2 separate regions of the Homo sapiens genome follow, and region 2 is linked to region 1. Evidence: promoter capture Hi-C in 16 types of primary human blood cells and fetal thymus (Javierre and others, 2016). All regions are on one chromosome and are shown on one strand. Each heading gives the region's core, a stretch centred on a gene start or on the middle of the fragment in contact. The rest is flanking DNA. Distances are from core to core; before and after follow the strand shown. Region 1 holds the start of CABP5 (calcium binding protein 5). Region 2 overlaps ZNF114 (zinc finger protein 114).

Region 1 (6,787 bases), core at 1,631-4,130:
ATTTAGGGGAGGGAGAGCATTATGACAAATACCTAATGCATGCAGGGCTTAATACCTAGGTGACGGGTTGATTGGTGCAGCAAACCAGCATGGCACATGTATACCTATGTAATAAACCTGCATGTTCAGCACATGTATCCCAGATTTGAAATAAAATTCTTTTAAAAAAGGGGGGGGGATTTAAAGACAGAGACAGGCATGTATACAGAGAGGAAACCATGTGAACATGGAAGCAGGGATTGGGGTGAGGCTCTACTGACCAAGGGCCGCCAAACTATTGCCAGCAAACCACCAGTCATCCGAAAGAAGACCTTGATAGCAGAAGGATCCTGTTCAGAATTCTGTGTTGCATTCAGTCGTAGCTTTTTTTTTTTTTTTTTTTTTTTTTTGGACAGAGTTTTGCTCTTGTTGCCCAGGCTGGAGTGCAATGGCACGATCTTGGGCTCACTGCAACCTCCGCCTCCTGGGTTTAAGCGATTCTGCTGCCTCAGCCTCCCGAGTAGCAGGGATTACAGGCATGTGCCACCATGCCGGGCTAATTTTTTTGTATTTTTAGTAGAGACGGGGTTTCTCCACGTTGGTTAGGCTGGTCTCGAACTCCTGACCTCAGGTGATCTGCCCACCTCAGCCTCCCAAATTGCTGGGATTACAGGTGTGAGCCATCGCGCCCAGCCTCGGCCATGTCTTCTTAGTCTCCTCCAATCTCGAACGGTTCCTCAATCTTTCCTTGATTTTCATGACCTTGACATTTTTGAAGCTTACAGGCCAGTTATTTTGTAAACCATCCCTCCATGTGGGTTCGTCTGACGTCTGATTATGATGAGATTCAGGAATCTTACAGAAGCGATGCTGTTCTCGTGACATCCTGTCAGGTGGTGTGAAATTCCAACTTGTCACATTACTGATGATGTCCACTTTCATTGACTAAGATGGTGTTTGCCACGTTTCTCCACTATAACGTAACTCCTTTGAAATTGGTATTTTGTAGGGAGGTATTTTGAGCTCTGTAAATATCAAACTTCTCACTTAGCTTTTTATTTATCTGAGTATGGACTCCTGGTTTCTTCTGTGGTCCTGTATAATTTGTTACTATCATTATTTATTTTGACTCTCAAACTGCCCAGTATGGCCAATGGAGCTTCTTCAAGCAGACTCCTGTGTTCTTTCCACATGTTCTCACAACACTTTGAGCAATTTCTTGCTTTAAGCATAGGACGTTTGTAGGCTCATCTTGTTCTTTTTTTGCTCTAGACATGGAATCAGCCAAATTTCCTAGGCACTCTGGTTCCATTTGGTGGAGAATGGTATATAGAAGTCAAGATTTGGATGCTAGTGGTGCTCATTCATATGGGCCATCATTGTTTCTATGTTCTCTTAGTGGAGAGAGCTAGAGAATATGTGTACAAATGTTCCTATACACACTGAAACTATGTGTTTATTTTTATCTCTCTATGTATAATTGAGATCCATGAGGACATACCAACGCCTCCAGTTATAGTCCAACACCACAGGGCTCATTCGACTTTCCTCCTTTCTGTCTTAGTAACTCCCTTTTCCAACAGTAGGAGACCTGGCCCCCATTCCCCTTACTCACTGTGTGTAGCCAATTTCCCTTTTCCTTTGCCATTTCACCCCTGTGGGGATGTCTTTCCCAGCCTAGTCTGGCTTCAACACCATACACCATGCTATTCCCATGAGTGGACATTTCTCTCTCTGCTTGGGTTATGACAACCCATGCCAGATCCCCTCTATGTGGCCTCCTTCCTAATTGCCTTACAGTGCAAACCTCCACCCCAGACAATGCCTGCATATAAATGCCCCCGCCCCACTCAGCTCATGTTCCAACACTGCACACCAAGCTGCCCATCTGTGGATTTATCCCCACCATCTCCAGCCCCAACACCCTGGGTCATGCTGCCCCTCTATGTGGACTTCTCCTCACCCCACTACCCCACTGGAATGCTGGCTCTCCACGCCAGATGGCCCCCAGCCCCCTCCTCCCCTAACCCTACCTAGTGTGGAGTCGCAAAACCCCTTTGGGCTTTGACACCACCATAACTTCACACCCTCCCTGACACCCCCACCTTGCTTTTTCCCTCTAAATCATTCAGGAAAGACAGAAGGAAAGAGATGAACAGAGGAAGAGCAAATGCCATGCTCTTAGTCACCGTGTACGCCCACTTCCTGAAGTCCATGCTTGCATCCTGCTCACTCTCACACATTCCCGACTCACCCAGGAAAACTCCCTGAGGCCAGGGGTGCTGAGCTCTCCATCTCACTGCCCAGAGGCCAGTGTTGGAGTGACCCTTCACATGCTTGTTGGAACATTGAATAAATGATGCCGTCTGCTCTAATCCTCCATTTTCTTTTCTTTTTTTTCTTTTTTTTTCTTTTTTTCGAGACAGGGTCTCACTATGTCAGCCAGGCTGGAGTACAATGGTGCAATCGTAGTTCACTGCAGCCTGGAGTGCAATGGTACAATCATAGCTCACTGCAGCCTTGAACTCCTGGGCTCAAGCAATCCTCCCATCTCTGCCTTTGGAGCAGCTGGGACTACAGGTGTGTGCCACCATGCACGGCTAATTTTTTTATTTTTTGTAAAGACAGCCTCTCCGTATGTTGCTCAGCTGGTCTCAAACTCCTGGGCTCAAGCAATCCTCCCACCTCAGCCTCCCAAAGCGCTGGGACTACAGACATGAGCACCACATCCAGCCTCTAATCCCCATTTATAAAATGCACTTTCCAATTCCACTCTGGGGATAAAGGCGTCACAGAACCTGACTCTGCATTTCCCCACCCATATCATTCAAGCCAGATGGGGAGGCAGGGACAGCTCTGGTCCCTCCCCAACCCGGGTAGAGATTTCCAGCCCAGCTGTCACAGCTCTAAGACACCGGGACCGAAGGAGAAGCCAAGAGAGGCAGGAAGAGGTGGCAAAGGAGTGCTGGAGAAGATAAGGAGGCTGAGCTCCGACAGGGAGCAGGGAGGAGGGGCCATCTTGAGACTGGTGCCCTGCGAGCTCCACCCCACCCCTCCATGCAGTTCCCCATGGGCCCCGCCTGCATCTTCTTGAGGAAAGGCATTGCTGAGAAACAGCGGGTGAGGTGGGGAGTGAGGGGGAAGGGCGGTGGGCGGGGCAAAGGGAGCAGGGGTGTGGGACAAAGAAGGGGACATGATGGTGCCACAGAACCAGGGGAACAGGTGGATAGAGCAGGAGCTGAGAAGGTATAAGAAATTCCAAGGACCCTGGTGGGGTCATGTAAGCCAGTGAGATAAATGGGTGGGGGTAAAATCAAAAGTCAGGAGCAAAGAGAAGGAGAGAAAAGGAAGAAAAATGAAAAGGGAAAGTGGGATGATGTCATTGTTGAGATTACCATCATTCTTTTCTATGGATGCTCATTGTGATAATGGTGGTGATGATGGTGGTGGTGGTGATGATAATGATGACGTTAATAACAATAGCTGCCACTTATTAAGTCATTGTTCTGTGCCCAGCCCTGTGCAAAGGGATTTGCACACCTGATGTTATTTACACCTCAGAACAACTCATGAGGTCAGTGACTTTCATTCCCATTTTACAGGTGAGGAAAGTGAAGCTCTGAGTCATGAAGTCATTTGCCTTAAGCTTACACAGTTAGTAAGTGGCAGGGTCGGCCAAGTATAGTGGCTCATGCCTGAATCGCAGCATCTTGGGAGGCAGAGGCGGGAGGATCACTTATGTCCAGGAGTTTGAGACCAGCCTGGGAAACACAAGACCCCATCTCTACTAAAAATACAAAAAAATAGCTCAGCATGGTGGCATGCATCTGCAGTCCCAGCTACTCAGGTGGCTGAGGCAGGAGGATCGCTTGAGCCCAGGAAGTGGAGGCTGCAGTGAGCCCTGATTATGCCACTGCACTCCAGCCTGGGCAACAAAGTGAGACTTTGTCTCGTTAAAAAAAAGTAAGTGGCAGGGTCGGGTTTGCTTGATTCCTGTGGGCATGCTTTTTAAAATTTTTTTATTTTTCCATATATACCAACTTGTCCAGATATGTGGGCATACTTTTCATTGTTAGGCTTTAAGATCACCAAAAAAAGAGAATAAAAAAGGCCAGGCAGTGGCTCACGCCTGTGATCCCAGCCCTTTGGGAGGCCAAAGCAGGTGGATCACGAGGTCAGGAGGTCAAGACCAGCCTGGCCAAGATGGTGAAACCCTGTCTCTATTAGAAATACAAAAATTAGCCGGGTGCAGTGGCAGGCGCCTGTAATCCCAGCTACTCGGGAGGCTGAGGCAGGAGAATCGCTTGAACCCGGGAGGCAGAGGTTGCAGTGAGCCGAGTTCGTGCCACTGCACTCCAGCTTGGGTGACAGAGCGAGACTGTGTCTCAAAAAAAAAAAAGAGAGAGAGAATGAAAAAAAGGGTGATAAGGGACCGCAAGGAGGGGATCAGATGAAAGAGAAGCTGAGGGAAAGGCTCCAGGGATAAAGGGAGATGGGAAGGCTAAAGAGACCAGAGGTCAGTAGAATTTCCTTGTTAACATGCCATGTATATGTAAGCCCAACCCTTCAGGTATGTGCAGGAGTAGGTGGGGCAGCAATAACTGGACATTCTCAGAGTGTTTAGGAACTGGTCATGCTGGCACTGACCCTCCTGCCTGAAAGCCATTGAATGCTGTTTCCATGCACAGAGATTCTAACCTTTGGCAGGAAGATTGGAGGCAGGTGAGAAAGGAGTGAATGGGGGCTAGTGTGAAGAATTCTGACTTGGGAGTCAGGAGCCCTGAATTCAAATCCCAATACTGTGTCTGACTTGCCCCATGACCTCCAGGGAGCAGGTGAATGCCTTCCTCCCTTGGGAGGGGATCTGCTGCTTGTGAGCTGTGTGACCTTGTGCAGGTTCCTTAACCTCTCTGTTCCTCAGCTTTCTCATGGGTAAGATGGAAACGAGATGTAGATCTGCATCACAGAGCAGTACTGAGGTTTAAATGAAATGATTGTGGAAACTGCCTGGCACAGAGTCACCACTCTGAATGAGTTAGCTGTGGTTGTGAAGTCTCACTTTTTTCATCTGGAGATTGGACTCCCCAGTGTTTAAGACCCCCTTTGACACAATGTGATGGGTGTTTGTCTCAGAAAGGGAGAAAAAGGGAGATTGGGATTCGTGGGTGGGAGAGAGACATCGAGAGGGGGGTGGGGAGCCAAGAACTGTGGAACAGGAGTCAGGAGATGGGAAAAGGAATGGGAGGGATGGAGGAGGAGAGAGAGAATGGAAAGAGAACCACGAGAGCGTGGGGAGGAGCTTGGGAGAACAAGGAGACCCTTTGGAGAATGGGTGACCCTCTCTCCAAATTCCCTCTCATCTGCATTCCTTTCCAGGAAAGACCACTGGGACAAGATGAGATTGAAGGTAACACCGTCTTCCCCAGTTGCTTCCACGTTGCCATCCACCCACCTGACCTGCCCTCAGTCCCTTTGTGCATTTCCGTATAAATTCCATTACATGGAATTTTTACAATCCCTCTCTCTTCCCACTCAACTGTAATTTTGTAGAACTCTTTCTCGTGGCAGTTGAAGGACTTCCCAAAGTATTTCGAAGGCATATCCATCCTCAAGTATCTCCAAGACTCAGGAGTGAAAACAAATGAGTTTCTCTCTTGGTGACTTTGAGGTTCCCCATAACTTCATCCAGGAATCTGAAGGACGCCAGTGCTCTCATTTAGTGGTCTCAGGAATGATGCCTCTTTTGCTAACACATTTCATACATCACTCCTTTTTGAATTTTTTTTTCTTTTTTGAGACAGAGTTTTGCTCTTGTTGCCAGGCTGGAGTGCAATGGCACGATCTCCTCTCACTGCTACCTCCGCCTCCCAGGTTCAAGCGATTCTTCTGCCTTGGCTGAGGCAGCCTCCCTAGTAGCTGGGATCAAAGGCATGAGCCACCATGCCCAGCTAATTTTTTTGTATTTAGTAGAGATGGGGTTCTGCCATGTTGGTCAGTCTGGCCTCAAACTCCTCACCTCAGGTGATCCACCCACCTCGACCTCCCAAAGTGCTGGGATTACAGCCATGAGCCACCACATCCGGCCTTGGTTTTTTTGTTTTGTTTTGTTTTGTTTCTAATGTACGCTCCTTTAAGGAGTCTCTAGTTGGAGCCTCATTGATAGCTTCAAGAGATGCCACTCTTCCCCACTGACTGCTTCAAGTTCCCCCAAAGTTCTCTCTTAACTTTCAGAGCTGCGGGAAGCATTTCTTGAGTTCGATAAGGACCGAGATGGGTTCATCTCTTGTAAGGATCTGGGGAATCTCATGAGGACGATGGGTTACATGCCCACGGAGATGGAACTGATTGAGCTCGGCCAGCAAATCCGCATGAACCGTGAGTCCAGGGAATGGGAGGGATGGCCGGGGTTAGGGAAGGGATCAGGGCAGAATTGGGAAGGATGTAGAGGTTAAGAGTAGAGTTGGGGGTGGAGAGGAGGATGAGAGGGACTAGAAGTCTGGAAGAAAACAGGTCAGATTCGACTCAGGAAGGCAGCATTTGAAGTGGTTAAAAGCTTTTAGAGATAGGTCTGGGTTCAAATCTCAGTTCTATTATTTACTAATTACAGTCATTTTGAAAAGTGAAGTTATCCGCTACTCTTCAGTTTCCATTTCCTCATCTATAGAGGAAGATGCCTCTCTCCTTACCTCATGGGACTGTGGAAAGGAAGAGAAGGAAGAGATAAAGATGCTGATGCAGTTAAAGTCTTAGCCTCCAGTAAATTCTTATTAAAGGTAGTTATTACTATCACCACTAAGATTCATCAGTG
Region 2 (6,787 bases), core at 2,062-4,561, 240 kb before region 1:
TCAGGCTGGTCTCGAACTCCTCACCTCAGGCGATCCGCCCACCTTGGCCTCCCAAAGTGCTGGGGTGACAGGCATGAGCCAACATGCCCGGCCGTTTCCCAACTTTTAAAAGATTGAAAAGAGGCCGGGCACAGTGGCTTATGCCTGTAATCCCAGCACTTTGGGAGGCCAAGGCAGGCAGGTCACTTGAGGTCAGGAGTTTGAGACCAGCCTGGCCAGCGTGGTGAAATCTCGTCTCTACTAAAAATAGAAAAATTAGCTGGGCGTGGTGGTGGGTGTCTGTAATCCCAGCTACTCGGGAGGGTGAGGCAGGAGAATCACTTGAGCCCAGGAGGCAGAGGTTGCAGTAAGTCGAGATTGCCCCACTGCTCTCCAGCCTGGGTGACAGAGCAAGACTCTGTCTCAAAATAAATACATACATAAATAAAATAAAAATAAAAATAAGACATTAAATAGTGCTCATTGTGGAAAGTGAATCTATGTGCCCTTAGTAAAGAAGATGAGAAGAATGGAGGTGGCAGGGAAGTTGACAGAATAGGGCACATTAGACTGACAAAGTCATAACAAGTAACCCAAGTTGGTACCAGAAAGACCACATACTCTGACCATAATGCAGTTGAACAGTGACCAATAAGACAAAAATGGTATCATGGAGTATATGAATCCCAAGTCTAAATTGAATGAGGCTCAAAGAAGGCTTCACATTGAAAATGAGACCACGTGTATGTGAGTTATAATGAACCTGCTATATACCAACATTTATGTGGCAGAGCTGGGAGTGTGCAAAGAGGGATATCCTTCATCTTGTAGCATTTTTTTTTTTAGAAAGGAAAAACTGGAAAATCATGAACATTTACAGTGTTTCAGTCCTACTGTGCGCTCATTGTGCCTAAGTGAAAGGCTGGACCTGAAAGCTTTCTTTTTTTTTTTGAGACAGGGTGTCACTTTGTCACCCAGGGTGGAGTGCAGTGGTGCAAACACAGCTCACTGCTGCCTCAAGCTCCCAGGCTCAAGCGATCCTCCTGCCTCAGCTCCCCAGGTAGCTGGGACTACAGGCATGTGCTACCACTCCTGGTTAATTTTTGCATTTTTTTTTTTTTTTTTGTAGAGATGGGGTTTCTCCATGTTGCCCAGGCTGGTCTCAAACTCCTGGACTCAAGCAATCCCCCACCTTGGACTCCCAAAGTGCTAGGATTACAGGTGTGAGTCACTGCACCAGGCCTTGAAAGCTTTCTTATTTTTATTCCAGTTGTAGCCTCCCTTCAGGATGTGGATTCACATGCAACATGAGTGGTAAGTGTTTAAAGAGGTCTTTCCTACTTTTTTTTTTTTTTGAGACGGAGTCTCGCTCTTTCCCCCAGGCTGGAGTGCAGTGGCTCCATCTCGGCTCACTGCAAGCTCCACCTCCCAGGTTTACACCATTCTCCTACCTCAGCCTCCCAAGTAGCTGGGACTACAGGCACCTGCCACCACGCCTGGCTAATTTTTTTTGTATTTTTAGTAGAGACGGGGTATCACCGTGTTAGCCAGGATGGTCTTGATCTCCTGACCTCGTGATCCGCCCGCCTCGGCCTCCCAAAGTGCTGGGATTACAGGCATGAGCCACCGCGGCCGGCAGGTCTTTCCTACATTTTTTATTTCCGTAAGGAGTCTCTGCAGTGTGAGTTCTTGTATGAACCATGAATTTGAGACCACGCTGAAGGCTTTGTCATATTCCTTTTAGATTCGCAGTTTCTCTCCAGGGTGAGAACAAATGTCTACTCAAGATGAATGAAGATGAAAGGCTTTCTGTAGACTTTACCTTCACAGGGTTTTTTTTCACATTTCTGTAAGATACGAGAGTTCAGGGAAGATGTTCTCACTCATGCTAACCCCTTGAGCTCCCTTCCAATATGTCCTCCTCACATGTTTGGTACAGTCAGAAAATTAATGAAAAATTTTCCACCTTCCTTTCATTCACAGGGCTTCTCATCTTTGTGAGTCTTAAGATGTTTTTTAAGTCCTGACGACTTTGCAAAGTCTTTTCCACATGTCTTACATTTATAGGGTTTCTCTCCAGTGTGGCTCCTTATATGTGTATATTTTGAGGACTCCCGAATGACTTTCCCACATTCTTCACATTCGTAGGGCTTCTTCTGCACAACATGCTTTCTTAAATGTTTATTAAGGTGTAAGGAATATCTAAAGGCTTTCCCACATTTCCCACATTCATACGGTTTCTCTCCAGTGTGAATTTTCATATGTCTCATAAGGAATGACTGATAAAAAAAGGCTCTCCCACATTCGGGGCATTTATGGGTTTTCTCTCCAGTGCAATGACTCTTGTGTGAACCGGAATTTGGAGCGTTGGCAGAGGTTGCCCCAGTTTGACAATCCTTCTTGTTTGTCTCTGCGGTATACAACTGCATCTGCATGGCGTGAATTGAGTTATTTCTGGAGGTGTTCTCGCACTGAGTAAAATCATACATTTTCTCTCGACCATGAGTGTTGTGTGCCCTAAGGGATCCGTCTTCACGGAAAGCTTTTCCAAATGGATTCCGCTGGTGCCTGTTGGCCCCCGTATCAATTTCATCACGTATATGATGCACAGTGTTCTGACTGCCAGTCCATGTGCTTGATTTCAGCTCTGTTTTTCTCCCACACGGAACCCACTGAATGTTCCACCCCAAGACTCCATCGTCTTCGTTGTTTTCATGTGTTTTTTGACTATCGTTTAAGACAGGATTATACTTGAAAATACTTGAGTCACGTGTTAGGATACATTGTCTTATGGAATCTCCCTGTGAAGGCACAAGCCTGCAGGTAGGTTTAGAGTGGTTCCTCATTTCATGATCTTCACAAATGCTAACAGGAGATTCATCTTTCTCAGGGGCAACTGCAGGTGGCTTCACATTATTCACCCCCTGCCTGTGTGGTTCCTCTGTTTTGGGGCATCTCCAGTCTTCTCTTAATGTGGAGTGCTGGGAACTGATGCTCGTGAGACACACTCTGTTGGCTTCAGGAAATGTTCTTTTAGGAAGAATATCCGGCTGAGGGGTTGCGTCTTTGGTTTTACATGGAGTTGCCCAATCTGAAATACAGTGGCACAAAAGTTAAATTCTTTGTTGAAAGTAAAGGTGGGTTAGAGATGATGACATAGGCAATCTCCGTGTGGATTTCTCTCTTTCTTTCTTTCTTTCTTTCCCTCCCTCCCTCGCTCCTTCCATCCTTTCTTTCTTCCTTCCTTCCTTCCTTTCTTTCTTTTCTCTTTCTTTCCCTTCCTTCCTTCCTCCTTCCTTCCTTCCTTCTTTCCTCTCTCTCTCTCTCGTTCTCTCTGTCTTTCTCTCTTTTCTTTAGACAGAGTCTTACTCTGTGGCCCAGGCTGGAGTGCAGTGGCATGATCTTGGCTCATTACAACCTCCGCCTCCCAGGTTCAAGCAATTCTCTGGCCTCAGCTTCCTGAGTAGCTGAGATTACAGGTGCGTGCCACCATGCCTGGCTAATTTTTGTGTTTTCAGTTGAGATGGGGTTTCACCATGTTGGCCAGGCTGGTCTTGAATTCCTGGCCTCATGTGATCCACCTGCCTCAGCCTCCCAAAGTGCTGGGATTACAGGCATGAGCCAACGCGCCAGGCCTCTGTGTGGATTTCTTTCTAAATGTTCACTCAACATGTATGATAAAAATGTGAAGGGGAAGAAAGCAAGAGGAAGGAAGCAGAGAAAGACATCAGAGATTCTGCAGTGTCAGGAATGTGATGACGGTAAGGTCAGGGGTTCAACATGGAGAGTGTCATGTTACTGAGGAACAGTTCTGCAGAGATCAAGGAAACGATCAGGAATTCTAAGTGGAAGAGAATTGGACAGAGAGTCCATGTGAAATTTTTATTTTTTTGAGATGAGGGTGTCACTAGGTTGCCCAGGTGCTGGAGTGCAGTGGCTGGCTATTCATAGGTGTGATCACAGCACACTGCAGCCTTGAGCTCTTGGGATCAAGTGATCCTCTTGCCTCAGTCTCCCGAGTAGCTGGCTCCATGTGCAATTTTAAGGAGAAAAGGAACAGGCCTTTAGCAGGGAAAAATGAAAATATGAGAGGATGGATAAAAGTCAAAAAACATAAGCTTGGACAGGCACAGTGGCTCACGCCTGTAATCCCAGCACTTTGAGAGGCTGAAGTGGGTGGATCACCAGAGGTCAGGCGTTTGAGACCAGCCTGGCCAATGTGGTGAAGCCCCGTCTCTACTAAAAATAGAAAAATTAGCTGGGCATGGTGGCGTGTGCCTGTAATCCCAGCTACTCAGGGGGCTGAGGCAGGAGAATCACTTGAATCCGGCAGGCAGAGATTGCAGTGAGCTGAGACTGAGCCACTGCACTCCAGCCTGGGCAACAGAGTGCCTGTTTTTTTCTTTCTTTTTTTTTCCTTTTAATTAAAAAAAAATTGTTTTTAAAGACAAAAAGAACAGTGTTTTGCCATGTTGGCTGGGCTGGTCTCGACTTCCTGGCCTCAAGTAATCCTCCTCCTGCCTCAGCCTCCCAAAGTGCTAGGATTACAGGTGTGAGCCACTGTGCCTGGCCTATAGGTCTCCTTAGCTGCTCTGTAGATAACAACTTGAAAATTATAAAACATTAAGTTTTCTCTTTGAGATATTCCTTCAGGTCCTGCATTCTGATGAAATGACTATGCTCACTGATCTGAGGAATGCCGTGAGAAACTGACGCACCAAAGAATGTACTTTCCTCATCCCGATGATTTCATCCCCCTTCCTCTGACCAATCAACGTCTCCAATTCTCCAGTCCCTTATCCTCCATGATCCCCTTAAAAATGAGAGCAGTGGCTCATGCCTGTAATGCCAACACTTTGGGAGGCCGAGGTGGGCGGAGCACTTGAGGTCAGGAGTTTGAGACAAGCCTGGCCAACACAGTGAAACCCCGTCTCTACTAAAAATACAAAAATTAGCCAGGTATGGTGGTGCATGTCTATAATCCCAGCTACTCGGGAGGCTGAGGCAGAAGAATTGCTTGAACCCGGGAGGTGGAGGTTGCAGTGAGCCGAGATCGCGCCACTGCACTCCAGCCTGGGCAACAAGAGTGAAACACAGTCTCAAAAACAAAAAAAAAACAAAAACCCCAGAACCCCCCAGGGAGAAGAATTTGAGCGTCTCCTCCCATCTCCTCGGTTGGCACCATGTAATCATGCAACTTTCTCTTTTCTCTGTTGCAAACCCTGCTGTCTCAGTGGCGAGCCTGTTGCTCTGTTACCATGCTGCTGGCTTACAAACCTGTTGGTCCTGTAATGTTCACATCTACCTGGTACTGAGATGCATAAATGCCTGGACAAAACTGCCCTGCACTGTTTTCAGACCACTTCTTGCTCCAAATGAGAGGGCAGACTGGGTTTGCCTAGTTGAAATCCTGCTCACTGGGCAAGCATGTGGTATAAAGGAACTGTGCCGAGACTTTCTGTCAAATGGACACAGGCTTTGGTTTGCTGGGGTTCTGAAGCTGATGATGTGTGAATAGAAGTGCAACAGTGGTCCCTCTACTTTTCTCATCAATGCACTAAAACTCTGCCAAAAGGGCTCAAAACGACCCTTTTCCTGTGCACCATGTTCACCTACATAAGGATCCCCCAAATTCTGTTCAATCACGAAGAGAATAAAAATGTAATGCATTAGCTGGGGGTGGTAGAGCATGCCTGTAATCCCAGATACTCAGGAGGCTGAGGCAGGAGAATTGCTTGAGCCCAGGAGGCGGAAGTTGCAGTGAGCCGAGATGGTGCCACTTCACTCCAGCCTGGGTGACAGGGTGAGACCCCATCTTAATGAAAAGAAAAATAAAGGCTGGGTGTGGTGGCTCACGCCTGTAATCCCAGCACTTCCGGAGGCCGAGGTGGGAGGATCACTTGAGGTCAGGAGTTCAAGACAAGCCTAGCCAACGTGGTGAAATCTGCCTCTACTAAAAATACAAACAAAAATTAGCCAGGTGTGGTGGTGTGCACCTGTATTCCCAGCTACTAGGGAGGCTAAGGCAGAAGAATTGCATGAACCTGGGGGGTGGAAGTTGCAGTGAGCTGAGATGATGCCGCTGCACTCCAGCCTGGGAGATAGAGTGAGACCCTGTCTCAAAAAATAAATAAAATAAAATAAAATAAAATAAAATATAAAATAAAATAAATAAAGTAATGCAACAAACTGACTTCCAGTTTCATGGTGAACCCTACACCTACTACCTGGGGGGCAGCAGCTGTGTCTCTGGAATTTAACCCAGTTCCCATTTTCCAATGCACTTCCCAGAACACGGTTCCAAACCAGCACTGGTCCCATCACGGACTAAGTGCAGGAAGGGGGCCTCCTTACCTATGAATGCCAAGTTCCTAGAATTTTCCAGCATCACGTCTCTGTAGAGATTCCTCTGAGCTGGGTCCAGCAGGGTCCACTCCTCTTTGGTGAAGTTCACAGCCACGTCTGCGAAGGTCACCGAGTCCTAAAATAACACATGCAGTTTGGCTCGGAGGGGTGTCCTGTTATCAGTTTGAACTGTGACCCCTTTCTCCACAGAAAAAGGTAGGTTGAGGTCTTAACCCTTGGTACCTGCAAAGGTGACCTGATTTGTGAACTAGAGTCTTTGCAGATGTCAATGAATTAAGATGAGGTTGTGGCCGGGCGCGGTGGCTCACACCTGTAATCCCAGCACTTTGGGAGGCTGAGGCAGGTGGATCACAAGGTCAGGAGTTCGAGACCAGCCTGGCCAGCATGGTGAAACCCCGTCTCTACTAAAAATACAAAAAATTAGCTGGGCATGGTGGTGGCG

What was found. Contacts are between HindIII fragments. The CHiCAGO score rates a contact against its expected background, and 5 or more counts as called.
Region 2: a contact is called between a fragment that was not itself captured here and the fragment with the promoter of CABP5 in region 1, in 1 of 17 cell types (total CD8 T cells). The highest score is 5.6, in total CD8 T cells.

The regions. Positions count from the first base shown.
Region 1 is chr19:48,040,172-48,046,958 of GRCh38, reverse strand. CABP5 (calcium binding protein 5) reads left to right here and starts at 2,880. Exons shown (of 6, transcript NM_019855.5): 1 at 2,880-3,099; 2 at 5,356-5,386; 3 at 6,211-6,354. The coding sequence starts at 3,037. The HindIII fragment of the contact is 2,868 bases long and covers 760-3,627 here.
Region 2 is chr19:48,282,044-48,288,830 of GRCh38, reverse strand. It overlaps ZNF114 (zinc finger protein 114), which reads right to left. Exons shown (of 6, transcript NM_153608.4): 5 at 6,334-6,460; 6 at 1,223-3,070. The coding sequence ends at 1,953. Among named protein-coding and RNA genes, the nearest start is that of ZNF114-AS1, 14 kb to the right of the region's middle. The HindIII fragment of the contact is 1,576 bases long and covers 2,524-4,099 here.